Linked DNA regions of Homo sapiens: region 2 is linked to region 1. The links are contacts of gene promoters, found by promoter capture Hi-C in blood cells and fetal thymus (Javierre and others, 2016). All regions are on one chromosome and are shown on one strand. The core of a region is centred on a gene start or on the middle of the fragment in contact, and the rest is flanking DNA. Distances in the headings are between cores, read along the strand shown.

Region 1 (6,906 bases), core at 1,730-4,229:
CTTCCCGGTTTCAAACAATTCTCCTGCCTCAGCCTCCCATGTAACTGGGACTACAGATGCGTGCCACCACACCAAGCTAATTTTTGTATTTTTAGTAGAGATGGGGTTTCACCATGTTGGTCAGGTTGGTCTCGAACTCCTGACCTCAGGTGATTCATCAGCCTTGGCCTCCCAAACTCTGGGATTACAGGTGTGAGCCACCATGCCCAGCCTGATTAAGCCTCTTAAAGTGAAGTTTAGGCCAGGTGCGGTGGCTTACACTGGTAATCCCAGCACTTTGGGAGGCCCAAGTGGATAGATCACCTGAGGTCAGGAGTTCGAGACTAGCCTGGCCAACATGGTGAAACCCCATCTCTACTAAAAATACAAAAATTAGCCGGGTGTGGTGGCAAGTGCCTGTAATCCCAGTTACTTGGGAGGCTGAGGCAGGAGAATCGCTTGAACCCGGGAGGCAGAGGTTGCCGTGAGCCGAGATCTCGCCATTGCACTCCAGCCTGGGCAACAAGAGTGAAACTCCGTCTCAAAAATAAATAAATAAATAAACAAAGTGAAGCTTAACATAACTATCTCTAAGGTATTACTAAATATAGTTTAATGTTCCAAGAAGATGTTGCTAAATCTTGGAATTTTTTGTACAGCACAAACTCTTATAAATCCTTTTATTTAAGCTTGAATAATGGTTAAAACCAGAGGCTATATTTCTTTAGCAAGAACTTTGAAAGAGTCTTTCAGAAACCATTGATAAAAGCATTTCTCAGAAGGCAAGCACTGGATGGACAAGTAGCTCAGTTGGTGGGTAAAATAACAGCCCCAAAGGTATCCAGGTCCATGTTCCAGGAACCTGGGAATGTTACTTTACATGGTAACAGGGATTTTGTGGACTGATAAGGATCTCGGGTGGGAAAACTGCCCTGGACTATCTGGATGGCCACTGAATGCAATCACCAGTGTCCTTGGAAGAAGGAGGCAGAGGGAGATTTGAAGATGCTGGCCTTGAAAATGGAGGAAGGGGACATGAGCCAAGGCGTCCAAGAAATGCAGCTCTAGAAGCCAGAAAAGGCAAGGAAACGAGCTGGGTTTTCCTGAGAACCACTGGAAAGAGCAAAGCCCTGTCAACACCTTGATTTTAGCCTAGTGAAACTAATTTGGACTTCTGGCCTCCAGAACTGCAAGAATGTATGTCTGTGTTTTTTTTTTTTTTGAGACGGAGTCTCGCTCTGTCGCCCGGGCCGGACTGCGGACTGCAGTGGCGCAATCTCGGCTCACTGCAAGCTCCGCTTCCCGGGTTCACGCCATTCTCCTGCCTCAGCCTCCCGAGTAGCTGGGACTACAGGCGCCCGCCACCGCGCCCGGCTAATTTTTTGTATTTTTAGTAGAGACGGGGTTTCACCTTGTTAGCCAGGATGGTCTCGATCTCCTGACCTCATGATCCACCCGCCTCGGCCTCCCAAAGTGCTGGGATTACAGGCGTGAGCCACCGCGCCCGGCCCAAATGTATGTCTGTGTTTTAAGCTGTCAAGTTTTGTGGTGATTTGTTACAGCAGCCAAACGAAACTAATTCACTTTGGTTATAGAGTTTAAAGCCAGCAAAATTTGGCTGTTTTTTTTCTTTTTAAATTAGTTTTCTTATTAAAAAAAATACAGATGGGGTCTTGCTGTGTTACCCAGGCTGGTCTCAAACTCTTGGGCTCAAGTGATCCTCCCAGCTTGGCCTCCCAAAGTGCTGGGATTACAGGCATGAACCACCAAGCCCAGCCAAAATTTGAAATGTTGATGACTAAAATATTTAAATTAAATTTACACCTGTGCTGACTCTTGTCATCATAAAAGTGAGTTTTTGTTTTACATCTGTTTATTGAAAAGGGGCAAAGAGCTCTCCTGTAAAACCAAGAGGATTTCTTTTAATGCCTCTAAGATCTGTTGACTTGTAACTTTGAGATTATGAATGTCTGTTCCTGGCAAGTGTTGGAATGTTTGTGGCAAAAAATAAACTGTGAAGCTTCATTTGCTGGACAGTTTACCCTGAGCACTCTAGGGATGATGACCTCAGTATGACCACGGTCGTTCCGGTTCTAATAAATTTAACCAGCTCTGGGTATACATAGCTCTGAGAGGACTCTCTGCAGATGAGGAACTTAGCTAAAATATTCCTCTTTGTAAAGTCATTTCACAAAGTGACTGCAACCGTGTAATTTTTTTAACATAATGTAAACACTTTTTTGCCCAATGCAATTACTTTGTTAAGTTTTAGTCTATCTTCATCATAAACACTTTTAAACAATTGAGTTGCCATTACGTTGTAGGTAAGTGAGCATTTTGCAATGATTTCGGGTCTCATAGTCGATAAATCGAAATGGTTCCTAGATAAAACACTCAAGTATAGATGTCACCAATGCTAAGGGGAAAGTTTTGCCTGATACTCTTAAGGACGCTGAGTGCCGCGTAAGGCCCCTGGTCCGGGAGGAGGGCTCTCTGGGCTCGTCTGGCTTGGGCATGTAGACCGGACAGCTCCCCGGGCCAAGGGCGCTTACCCCGCGGACCACCGCAGCACGTCGGCCGGCTGGGTGCGGATGGCAGCCTTGGTGAATTGCTTCAGGATGTCCGGCAGCTCCGGGGGAATGTGGATCTGCTGAGCGCAGAACATGGTGTCGGGAAGCGGCATCGCTCTCCGCAGAAGGGACCAGGCTGGTGAATCGCGGCGCGCTGCGAGGAAGAAGGGCGGCTGTCGGCTACGACGCGGTGGACCCGCTAGCAGCGCGGGGCTTGCGGCCAGGGCCGCCTCCCATCCCGTTCCCGAGGTTGGGGCCGGATTCGCGGGGCTCTTACCCGCTCCTCCGCGGGCTTCGGGAGAAATTCGGACCAACTGCCACTCCGACAACACCCTAGACCCTGCAGTTCCCTAGCGCCAGCCGCCACTACGGACGCGCTCGGTATCCAGGCACCCGGGACGCGAGCAGGCCCCGCCCCTGGAGCCGCGCACGCGCACGCGGCCCTGAGCGAGGCGGGGCTGCTCCCGGGCTGGACAAGGAGGTGCTGGCGTAGTCCGACTAGCAGCAGCCGCTGCTCCCCGGTGGTTCAGAGCCGCGCGAGCTGAGCGTTTCGCCTACAAAAGCATCTTCGGATCGGTTTCCCACCGCCGAATGTGAGCGGCGAACTCACGAAGGACTCCCTCTTCCCCTTGCTCTGGCTGCGTGAGGCTGAGGCTAGGGGACTCGGGCCTGCTAGGAGGGAAGCGGGTTAAGTGAAGGGGCTGATCGCCTGGGCGGCACGGGCCCCGCTGCGGGACCCGCCTGCGCCTGGGGCCGCTCCTCCAAACTTCTCGGGCTTCGAACTTCGCACATGCTGTTCCCTGGCCTAAGCCATCCCGTAGTGAACCTGAGTTCTTAATTTAAAAAGCCGCTTAGACAGTGGGCAGTTTCCAGCTAAAACACTATTGTATTTGTTTTCTTACGATAGGTTGCTTGAGCCAATGTGACTGGCTCTAGGAGGAAATAAATCACATCTGTCAAAAGAGCCTCGAGTCGAAGGATAGGAGAAACCTCGAATTTGGTGGGTGCTGACCAAGGCACCATGCAAGGGGTTAACTTTGCTTTAGGGGGTGACCTGGCTGGCTGCTGCAGTTGCCGTTAACAGCCACCGAATGGATGAGACTCCAGATCCACCTCCTCCTGCGTTCCTCAAAACAGGAAGATGGAGAACTACGGAGAGCTACTTCCCAGAGGGGCCGATGGCAAGCACTCCCTTCAAGGAAACTGGGGAAGTTGCCCGATTTTGATCGTTTCCATCCAAACACCCACCAGACAATATATACATACACATTTCTAAATTAACAGCATTGGCAAAAACTGAAAATACTTGTATTTAAAGTTGATGACAGTATGAAAACAAGAAATCCGTCCGGGCGCGGTGGGTCACGCCTGTAACCCCAGCACTGATCACAAGGTCAGGAGTTCGAGACTAGCCTGGCTAACATGGTGAAACCCCCTTCTCTACAAAAATTGGCTGGGCGTAGTGGCGCGTGCCTGTATTCCCAGCTACTTGGGAGGCTGAGGCAGGAGAATAGCTTGAGCCCGGGAGGTGGAGGTTGCCGTGAGCAGAAATGGCACCACTGCACTCCAGCCTGGGCGACAGAGTAAGACTCTGTCCCCGCCCCCCTCCACCCAAAAAAAGAAAAAAAAAAAAAGGAATCTTCTATGTTGTTGAGAGGGATGTTAATTAGTACCTTTATGGGGCAGTAATGTAACACTAAAATTTTTCGATGATCGTGCAATATTACTTCTGGGAACTTACCCTACAGAAATACTATAAAAAGTAATATGGACAAAAATCTTCACCATATAAATTGGGTAAATGTCTTTTGGAAAACAAATCATGGCCTGGCCACACAATGGTATGAAAAGATGCCCGTGTAAAGTGAAAAAAAGCATCTTGTCAAACAATCTGCATAGTATGACACCTTTATTGTGATAAATGATTCTGTGAAGGTATGTCTGGAAGCACACAACTAAACTATTAACAGCAGTTACCTCTGGGAAATAGGACAGGGATTTCAGGTTTTATTTTGGCCATAGACACATTATTTTGATTCTAAATTCATCATTTATTTACTAACTTAGCATTACTATTGAGTACCAAATATTTGCCAGGGAATTGTTCTGGGAATACAGTAATAATTCAGTTTAAAAAAATAAAATCTTTGGAGCTTACATTCAAGTGGGAAACAACATGCAAATATAAACAACAAAGGTAAACCATATAGTATGTTTAAAAGTACAAAAGAGAGCCGGGAGTACAAAATACAGCAGGGAGATGAGACAGGAATGCCCCAGTAGCTGCAGCTTTAGATAAGCCTCAGTGAGAATGACACTTCAGGAAAGAAATGAAGAGGCTAAAGAGCCTGAAGAACATTTGGGTATTGCAAATAGTAAGTGCAAAGGCACGAAGGCCTGACCTGTTTTGGAGGCAGGGAGGACGGCAGGAGCAGGGTGAACACAGAGGTGATGGGGTCAGAGAAGGGAGAAAAGGGGTGCTTCATGTTTTGCCCAGCATTGAAGGCTATTGTGGACTTTTGAGTGCCATGGTCGTCTATTGGAGAGTTCTGAGGGTTGGTGTGATCTGACTTGGATCTCAAGAAGAACATTCTGGATTCAATGTTGAAAACAAATGGAAAAGGAGAGAGAGCAGGGGCAGAGGCAGCAAGCTCAGGAGAAACAGCGATTAAGTAAACAATGGGTTTACTTGTTCAGTTTTGAGACTTCTTTATGTAATCTAGATGCAACTCATTTATCAGAAATGTTTTGCAAATATTTTTCTGCCACTCTACAGCTTGTCTTTTTGTTCTCCTTATGGTACCTTTCAAAGAGAAGTTCTCAATTTTGATAAAGTACAATTTATCGATTTTTCCTTCATGGATTGTGCTTTTGGTGTTGGATTTAAGAAATCTTTTCCTAACCCAAGGCTGAACACGTTTTCCTTGTTGTCTTCTAGAAATTATACAGTTTTGGGGAACTATAATCCATTTGGACTTTAATCTTTGCCAGTGTTAAGATATGGATCAATTTGTTTTTAATTTTGCATCTGATGCCCAATTATTCCAGCATCATTTTTTCAAGACCTTTGCACCTCTGTCAAAAACCAGTTGTCCACATACATGTTGGGTTATTTCTGGACTCTATTCTGTTCCATTAGACCAATGCACAGCCAGCAGAAGGGACTGATCCCAAAAACATATGAGTGAATGAAGAGGAGTACTGGGTATGAAGCTTCTCATCTTTAGGTGTATCCTAAAGAAGAGTTACTGAACAAACACAGAGAAGCAGAAAAACTCCGGCACTGTTACATATGTGAAGAAAAGTTTCAAAATGATAACTAAACAATGTAAAATGAGGCAAAAAGGGGCCTCTACGTAGTGTTTACGTATGAGTGGTCTTAGAGAAGTGTGTGACTAAGTAGAACTAGATTGCAGAAGGCTGAAAGAGTAATGGCAGGGGGACCTACATATACCAAACAGTCACTAAGGAAGTGGCTAGGCCATCTCTCCCGGGTGAACCTTTCTCTGTGTTCCCCATGGCATTTTATTCATACCTCTGTAATACAATCTTTTGCTCATGCTTCTGTTCCATTCTGAGTTCCTTGAAGGGAGACATCATACCTCATTCAACTACAGTACTAAATACAGTGCTAGAAACAAAACAGACACCAAAATAAAAACATGGAGGAGGAGGGGAACGTTACCCTCTCAGCCCCTTGATACGTTAGTTCTCCTTATCACTACATGTTTGCAACAAGAGTAGCTATGAACTGTGGAGCGGAAGGGGGAAATTAATGGCCAGTTTCTGAACTTGACCATGCAATTTCCTTTGCTGAAAAATTTCAGCTTCACAGATTAAAGATGTCTATGGTTCGAATAGCATTTCCTCTATCACCCCTGCATTTAAAGTAATTAAAAATGCACTTGTTTGGGGGAAAACAATCATGGAAAAAATTCTGAACCTATAAACAAAGAAAAATTAGAAATAGTCTGAAGCAAAAGGATCTCCTCAGGGCACTCAGAAGGAAAAAAACATCACGCAAGTCTTTCCTTTTTATCTGGGACATATGGTCAGGTATGTACAATGGATTTGATTGGTTTTACTCTAAGTATTCAGCTAAAAGACAACCTTAGTGAAACTGACTTTCTGATCTCGTAGCAGACATGCAGAAGTGGGCAGTAGCTTGCTATTGCACAAAATGTGGGGCCTTACTCTTCCCAGTGAGGACGGTCTACAGTTCAAGTTAGGGAGACAGAAGGGGAGGGATGTGTCCTCTGCAACTATGCATTTAAATGTATACATAAAAGGGAGTCGCCACAGTCACATTTAACTGGAGTTGTTTTTCCTTCCTATTATAACATCTGGATTATCTATG
Region 2 (6,906 bases), core at 999-3,498, 2.6 Mb after region 1:
ACAAATGTTCATTAATTTAAATTTGAGTAGCTATATGTGGCCAGCAGCTCCTGTACTGGACACAGTAGGTCTTGGAAAACTGCAAAAAATCCCAGTTCTTTATAATACTCCCTACTCCTTTTCTATATTCCTAAGTTTAAAAACAAAATATTTTAACAGTACTAGTCAATTAACTGTGGATAAGTGGCTATATGGGAAAGCTGGGATGAAGGTCAGTTCTGGGTGTCTGGGAGCCATAATGTGGGGGTACTGAGATGTACCCCTAAGAAGACTGCCTTCTGCAAAGGCTATGGCAGTGCTGACAATGACTACCTCTGCCACCTGAAAGAAACACTTCAGCATTCTTAGGTCACACCTTACCCCTGCCCACACCTCCTTTCAGAGGCAACCCACATCCAATGTCTCATCAAAGACTACAAAGGTCCAGCCTCTTCGTTCCAACTCAGGACAACTCTGAAGACCCACCAGCTCCAGAGAACCCTGTGGGATTGGCTGAGGCCTTTGCTGAGACTGCACAGCAGCTCAGCTTCTCACTGTGCCCAATCCTGCTTCCATCCCTCCATGCCCAAAGATGATGCTGTCAAGAGGATGCCCTAAAAACATCTCATTGTTTGACTCCTGGGAACCAGCCTGTGACAGTCAGTGCCAGGGTAGCCTGGGAAAGATGCTAAAATGGAGTCTAGAGCTGGATCATCTGCCTGTTTGACAATGAGAACACCACACCAGTGAGAGAGCAGACAGACGGCACTGGCACACAGCAACAATGCAACCGTAAGTAGCAGGGAGTGCCAGTGGAAGCAAATGCATCACCTTGCAAGATCCATCAGGTGCTTGAGAACTAGAGAGAAACAGCAGAAGAGAAGACTGGTGGGACTTGGGGGGCTACTGCTAAAATTCACTCGCACTTGAAAAAAAATGCAAAAAGCTTAAAGGACAAATCACCAATTAAGAACTAAGTAAAACTAAAATAGAACTAAGCCAGGGGACATCCTCAGGAGCTTAGAAAGACACAGTCATCTCATGCAGCCCATGACAGTGAAGGCAGAGAAAGCCAAGGACTAACTGGGAAAAAAAATCTTGAATACTCAGATTCCCTTAAAAATCTTGACTACCCAGAACGCCTTAAAAATCTTGACTACCCAGATTCCCTTAAAAATCTTCCTACCCAGATTCCCTTGAACTCTTTGAGCCTGCAGATGTGGCCAGTCCCTCCCATGAAGAGTAAGAACTCCCTTCTCGCATCTGGATGGTGTAAGGACCTCTGCCCACAGCACATGCCTGTACCCCCACTACCACACCCCATCCCCTCTTCTGGTTGCTAGACCAATAACTGGGGTTGTTGCGACACACTCGGCCACTAAAGCACTGGGCTAGCTAAGGAAGGTAAGGGACTAACCCCTAAGAAAGTATACGACAGAGCACTATGCCCCCACAGGAGCTAGGAGAGAATGCACACAACACAGCTGAGGTCCTAAATTGAGGAGGGCAGAACACAGATGTAAAAAATGGGCAGCCCACAAAGGCACTGGATCAATCCTTACAATGAAAAGAAATCAAGGAGGCATGTAAAAGGAGCTGTAGGCCGCTGCTCCAATAAAAACGATCCTTTGCCCTGTTTCCAGACCTGCAACCCACTGACTGTAGGAGAGAAGAGGTCCCTAGGAGGAGGGACTGTGAGACACTATAGAAACTGTACTTGACAATGGCTTCTGCAGTCCTTCTCCCAAAGGGGAAATGTACACTGGGCTAAGGGGAATGTGCAAACATTCCAGGGTCTGTTAAGAGGGGGTTCAAATGAATGTTGTTACCCAGGGACCCAAAGCATCAGCATAGCTCATCTATGACAGCAAGGCACATGGGGGCCAGGCGGTAAATGGCGTCCTGGCCCAGGACCTCCAGTGGCCACTCAGCAGCTGGCACAGGGCAACACCGAATTATTGGCCTATGACGTTAAGATCTATCATCATGGGGAGGGCCAAGAAGAAGTCTCTGAATTTGACGCCATCCTCCTCCCTAAACACCAAGATAGAACAAGAGAAACAAAATAGCATCCTGAGAGAAATGACATCCTTAAAAAGCTGGAGGACACAGGGGATGGTCTCTATCGTATCTCCATTTAATTCACCAGTTTGACCACTGCAAAAACCACATAAATCCTGGGGGATGACACTGAACTACTGGAAACTCAAACAAGAAACAGGTCCACTGTAACCTCCGTGCAAGCTGGTTTTCCTTAACAAAGTAGACTAGCATGGCCTCAGGTACACGGACAATGATTTAGTCAAAGTGCTCCTTCCCAACCCTATCACTAAAGAGGATCAGAAACAGTTCACTTTGCGCTGGAACAATGTATAAATTTACAATTATGCCCCAGGGCTATCATAAGTCCTGCCTGCTGTTATAAGAGTCTGAATAAATGTGGAACACCTGCAAAGCACCACACTAGCCTACTCTATCAGGGGCATCGTGCTATCAGACTGAATGAGCAACGAGGAGTAGCCAGGACAGTGCGGTCTTTGGTAAGACCCATGCCCTATGCAATTAAAGGGCCTGCAGTGCCAGCACAATTTTTAGGGTTCTAACAGTTTGGTGCACGTCAGGACATCCCCTCCCAAGTGAAGGCCACACTAGTGCACCTTGTACCTCACTTCTAGAGAGAAGCAGAACCACTGCTAAGTCTCTTCAGGATCTGTGGGTAGCACATTCCATACCTGGGAGGACTGCTGAGACCCAAATACCAGGTGACAGAAAAGGCCACCAGCTTTGCGTGGGGCCCAGAGCAGGAGAGGGCTCTACAGCAGATCCAAGTGACAGTGCTCGTTAACAGGTCCTGCCGCTCTACCACACAACCCAGAAGACCCTCTGGTTATTAGAGGTAATACTTCCACATGGCAGAAAGGTACCATATGGAGAGGAGCTGACTGAGGCCTTTGTTGAGACTGCATCGCAGCTCAGCTTCTCACTGTGCCCAATCCTGCTTCCAACCCCTCTGTGCCTCAAGGCAATGGTCCCAAGAGGATGCCCTACAAAACATTCTTTTTTTCCCAATTCTTTACTCTCTCAGTATATTATTTCATATTTATATTGTCTCTCTTAAGTACTTCAGATTTGTTAAATCTTTTAACTACATTATTAACAACTCAAGCCTATTTAATGACACTTTCTATTAAGAAAAAACCCAGAAACTTTTTTTTTTTTTTTTTTTTTTTGAGACGGAGTCTTACTCTGTCGCTCAGGCTGGAGTGCAGTGGCGCAATCTTGGCTCACTGCAACCTCCGCCTCCCGGAAAAAACCCATAAACTCTTAACAGATCTTCCGGCTAATTTAAAACTCCTAGTCAGATTAATGATTAATCTCTATCCCCGCTGCCATGAACTGATCCTGTCTGTGGTGCAACACTGCACTCTGCTCCCACCAGTCCAGGCATAAGTTGTGTCTGTTCCCAAACCAGACTGAGATACACTTACTGCAATTATCTCACTTAAACAATTCACAAAATAATGAAGTACAAGTGCAAAAACAATAGCCCATAGTTGTTTATACACAAAATCATACTTACATGAAAGCTTTAGAAAGACATTATAAAAGATGCTAAAAAAAATTGCTATCATACCAGGTGTTTACAAACAGTGCTAATATACAAGAAAGATGCTGCATCCAAATTATTTCTTAAATGTCTAAATCTGTCTTCATTAAAAAAAACAAGAAATTAAAACTGGTAATAGCTGCAGTAAGGGTGTGGTTTTTGTAAGAAAAGTCCATGTGGAACTCCAAACAGCCACTCAACAGAAAGAGGGCTTAGCCCTGCATTCAAAGACTGCCTGCTCTGGAAACTTATTTTAAGCAGGTTAGAAAAACTTCAGGGTACCATACACTGCCTGTGGGGAGAAATTAGCTATTATGCAATGTGATACTCAACTCACTGCCCACACAACTCATCTCTGTTTGACTCATCTAAAATGAGAAACCAAGTTGTTAGTTCTCCAAAATAATGATGAAACTGAGTTCTTATCTACTTCTTCAAATACAGAAGTAATAATACAAGACCTTTTGTAATACCTGGGTGGGAAAACTTTTACTGGAAGGGGCCAAATGCCTTAGGCATTGCAGGCCCCTGTGGTAACCACTAACTCTGCTATTGCAGCTCAAAAGCTGTCATAGACACTACCTAAATGAATAGGCATGGCTGTGTTCCAGTAAAATCTATTTACAAAAGAAAGGCTCTGGGCCACATTGGGCCAGTAAGCCATAGTTTGTTGACCTCTCTTCTAATGTAATAATAATTTAAAAGCCCAAAGCAAACATCCATGATTAAATAGCATCTATAGCATAAAGAAAAACTTCCTTACCTGGCCAAGAGACTCCTGCAGATGTACCTGTAAATATTCTGGGGGTAAACCAGGAATATTCAGAGAGGCTTGTGAGAGTGGGGGTACCGAACGGGTAAGTGAGGACTCAAAGTCTTCAATTACAACATTGGATTGGTTGCTGTTCACTGCATTTTGCTTCAAAACCTCAGAATCCTTTCTTCCTGAATCATCGAATCTCAGAAGCTCGACTTGAGATTCAATGTGTAGCAGCTCTGACTTCACAAGGTCTGTCCTCGAGGATGCAGGTGATGCCACCGGGAGTGCGCCACTTATCTCCTCTTGTCCTCTGCTTGACCTAAAATGCTTTCTGAGGGCTGGCCAGAGTCCAGCAATCCACGGCTCAACCACAAGTTCTAAACTGGACAGTAAAAACAAACGAAAAACAAAACAAATGCCTAAGTTCTCCATCTGAACACAGAACAGGATAATGACAGTCTGTCCATTTGGCAAAGTATGCACTTGTTAGAAACACTATGAAGACCATTCGGAATACAAAAAATACTTCATGATTAAGTTTTAACAAGCAGGATATATTATGTGTTCATTAGCACCGTAGCTGAAAACATGAGTATGTATAAAGGTAGAAGAAATGAAGAGGGATAGGAAGATATTCTAGTAATAGGATGACAGGAATAGAATTCCTCCTAATATTCCAGAATTGGTAAACTTTATTTTAAGAAGATATAATTTTAAATAGGCATACTAATGCTAACAGAACTTAACCAAAATCCAAGGCTACCATAATGCTGCAAATGCTCATTCCATCCATCAAATGCACCTTTTTTTTTTTTTTTTTTTGCCTAGCCAATTTACTGATCTACTGATCTGTTTCCTACAGATTAAAATATCACCAAGAAATCACTATGGATTAATGCCAAGTCCTTGGACTAAATAAATAGTTAAAGCCTTTATTTATTTTTTTATTTTAGTAAAATTCCCAGGGAGGCTGACAACAGGAGAAAAAAAAAGCAACCCTCCTTTGGGAAAGTTGAATTCATCATAAATAGATTTTTTAAATGTGGCAGTCCACCTACTACTAACAAATTATCATAACAACAGCCATTCCCTGAACAGAGAAGTTTAAGTAGAGTCAGTGGATAAGACTGTGGCAGGGCTGTGGAAATAACACCACTTTTAATCACAGCTCAAAGGAGGATCAATTAAATTCTAATTCCTAAAGCGAAATGAATACCAAGAGGAGGCAGATTTCAGGCCCGTGTGTCATTATGACTCAGGTTGTCATTTCACTGTGCTCGGGAGGTGCTCATGTGGTACACTACTCAAAATGTGGTTACACATTAGAGCTGCCCTGAGGAGCCTTTGTGAAAACAAGTTTATAAAACTACAGTTCAACAATAACAGCTACATGTAAAATATCACTCTCACAACTCAGAAATATTAAGGTGATAGTGTGCACAACCAGGAGGAGAACTAACGTTCACTGAGTGTTTACTACATGACGACAGGCACTCTTCTAAGAGGACGACATGTATTAATCCGTTTGACCCTCCTACGAAGCTTACACAGTAAATAGATTACTGTTATCTATTGCACAGAGGCAAAAACCAAGGAACAAAAAGCTTAACTAATTCAACCAAGATCTCAGTCAGTAAGTGGGGGATCAAGGATTTGAACCCAGGTATTGGACTCAAGTGTGCATTCGTAACCCCATTTAGTGTGGTGGCACATCAAGCAAGAATGTCTTGAAAATATCTTCATTTCAGAAAAAGGAAAAATTCAAGTAAGGTAGTTAGGTTGAAAATCTAAGCACTATAGTCTACTGAAATATACAGTCAAGCATTTCAATACTTACACCAATAAATCAACAGAGAAAATGAAAGCCTTTGAAGAGAAGTGAAATATGGATGAGTGATGGGCCTAATGGATGACACAAGCATTACATTAACAGTTAAACACAGCTCATACAAGACTGAGCATTTAATGTCAATGAGCTTCTGGCAAAAGAAAAAAGCTCAATATAAAGGTACAGAGCTAAAGTGAATTCCCAAGGAAATGTCACAAAGCTTTGTCACAATCAGGAAGAATATGTGTGCTGGCGATATGGAAAAAACCCATGGCATCAGAGCTGAAGGGAAAGACGGAAGAAGTGGGCACAGGGTGAGTTCAGCAGAAATACAGTATGCCGAAAAGCAAGACATTTGCTGAATTTGTAATTTTCTCATAAACAGATTATTCAGTAACATAGTGAGTGAAAATTAAATTAACACATGGACCTACTAGAAAAAAATTAAGGGTGTGTGCTGTTATCTGGCTAAAATAGTTGAAGGCTAAGTAAGTTATAGGACAATATCTGTAGGACCACTGAATAAACACATCAGGATGATTTGAAAGGTGGCACAATGGGTGAAATACTGACTTGTAAAAACAAAAATAAAAGTAATGAAAAGATAAAGTATGCGTCTGTAAACGTCTGATTGGCATGGTGGCAAATGGCCGTTCAGACGGTAAGAGCACGCCAAGCAATGCAGCCTGCAGCGAAGGCCCACAGACCTGTGTTCTCTAACAGCGAAGTGTG

The links. The method cuts DNA at HindIII sites, captures the fragments that hold promoters and counts their contacts. A CHiCAGO score of 5 or more calls a contact.
Region 2: a contact is called between a fragment that was not itself captured here and the fragment with the promoter of ROPN1L-AS1 in region 1, in 3 of 17 cell types (naive CD8 T cells, activated CD4 T cells and total CD4 T cells). The highest score is 9.4, in naive CD8 T cells.

The regions. Positions count from the first base shown.
Region 1 is chr5:10,437,924-10,444,829 of GRCh38, reverse strand. It overlaps ROPN1L-AS1 (ROPN1L antisense RNA 1), which reads left to right and starts at 2,979. Exons shown (of 2, transcript NR_102746.1): 1 at 2,979-3,142; 2 at 3,457-4,095. ROPN1L (rhophilin associated tail protein 1 like) reads right to left here and starts at 2,951. Exons shown (of 5, transcript NM_031916.5): 1 at 2,532-2,951. The coding sequence starts at 2,662. MARCHF6 (membrane associated ring-CH-type finger 6) reads right to left here. Exons shown (of 26, transcript NM_005885.4): 26 at 4,442-6,906. RefSeq lists a silencer at 2,838-3,097. The HindIII fragment of the contact is 3,763 bases long and covers 2,002-5,764 here.
Region 2 is chr5:7,875,766-7,882,671 of GRCh38, reverse strand. MTRR (5-methyltetrahydrofolate-homocysteine methyltransferase reductase) reads right to left here. Exons shown (of 15, transcript NM_002454.3): 5 at 4,350-4,728. Among named protein-coding and RNA genes, the nearest start is that of MTRR, 10 kb to the right of the region's middle. The HindIII fragment of the contact is 2,641 bases long and covers 928-3,568 here.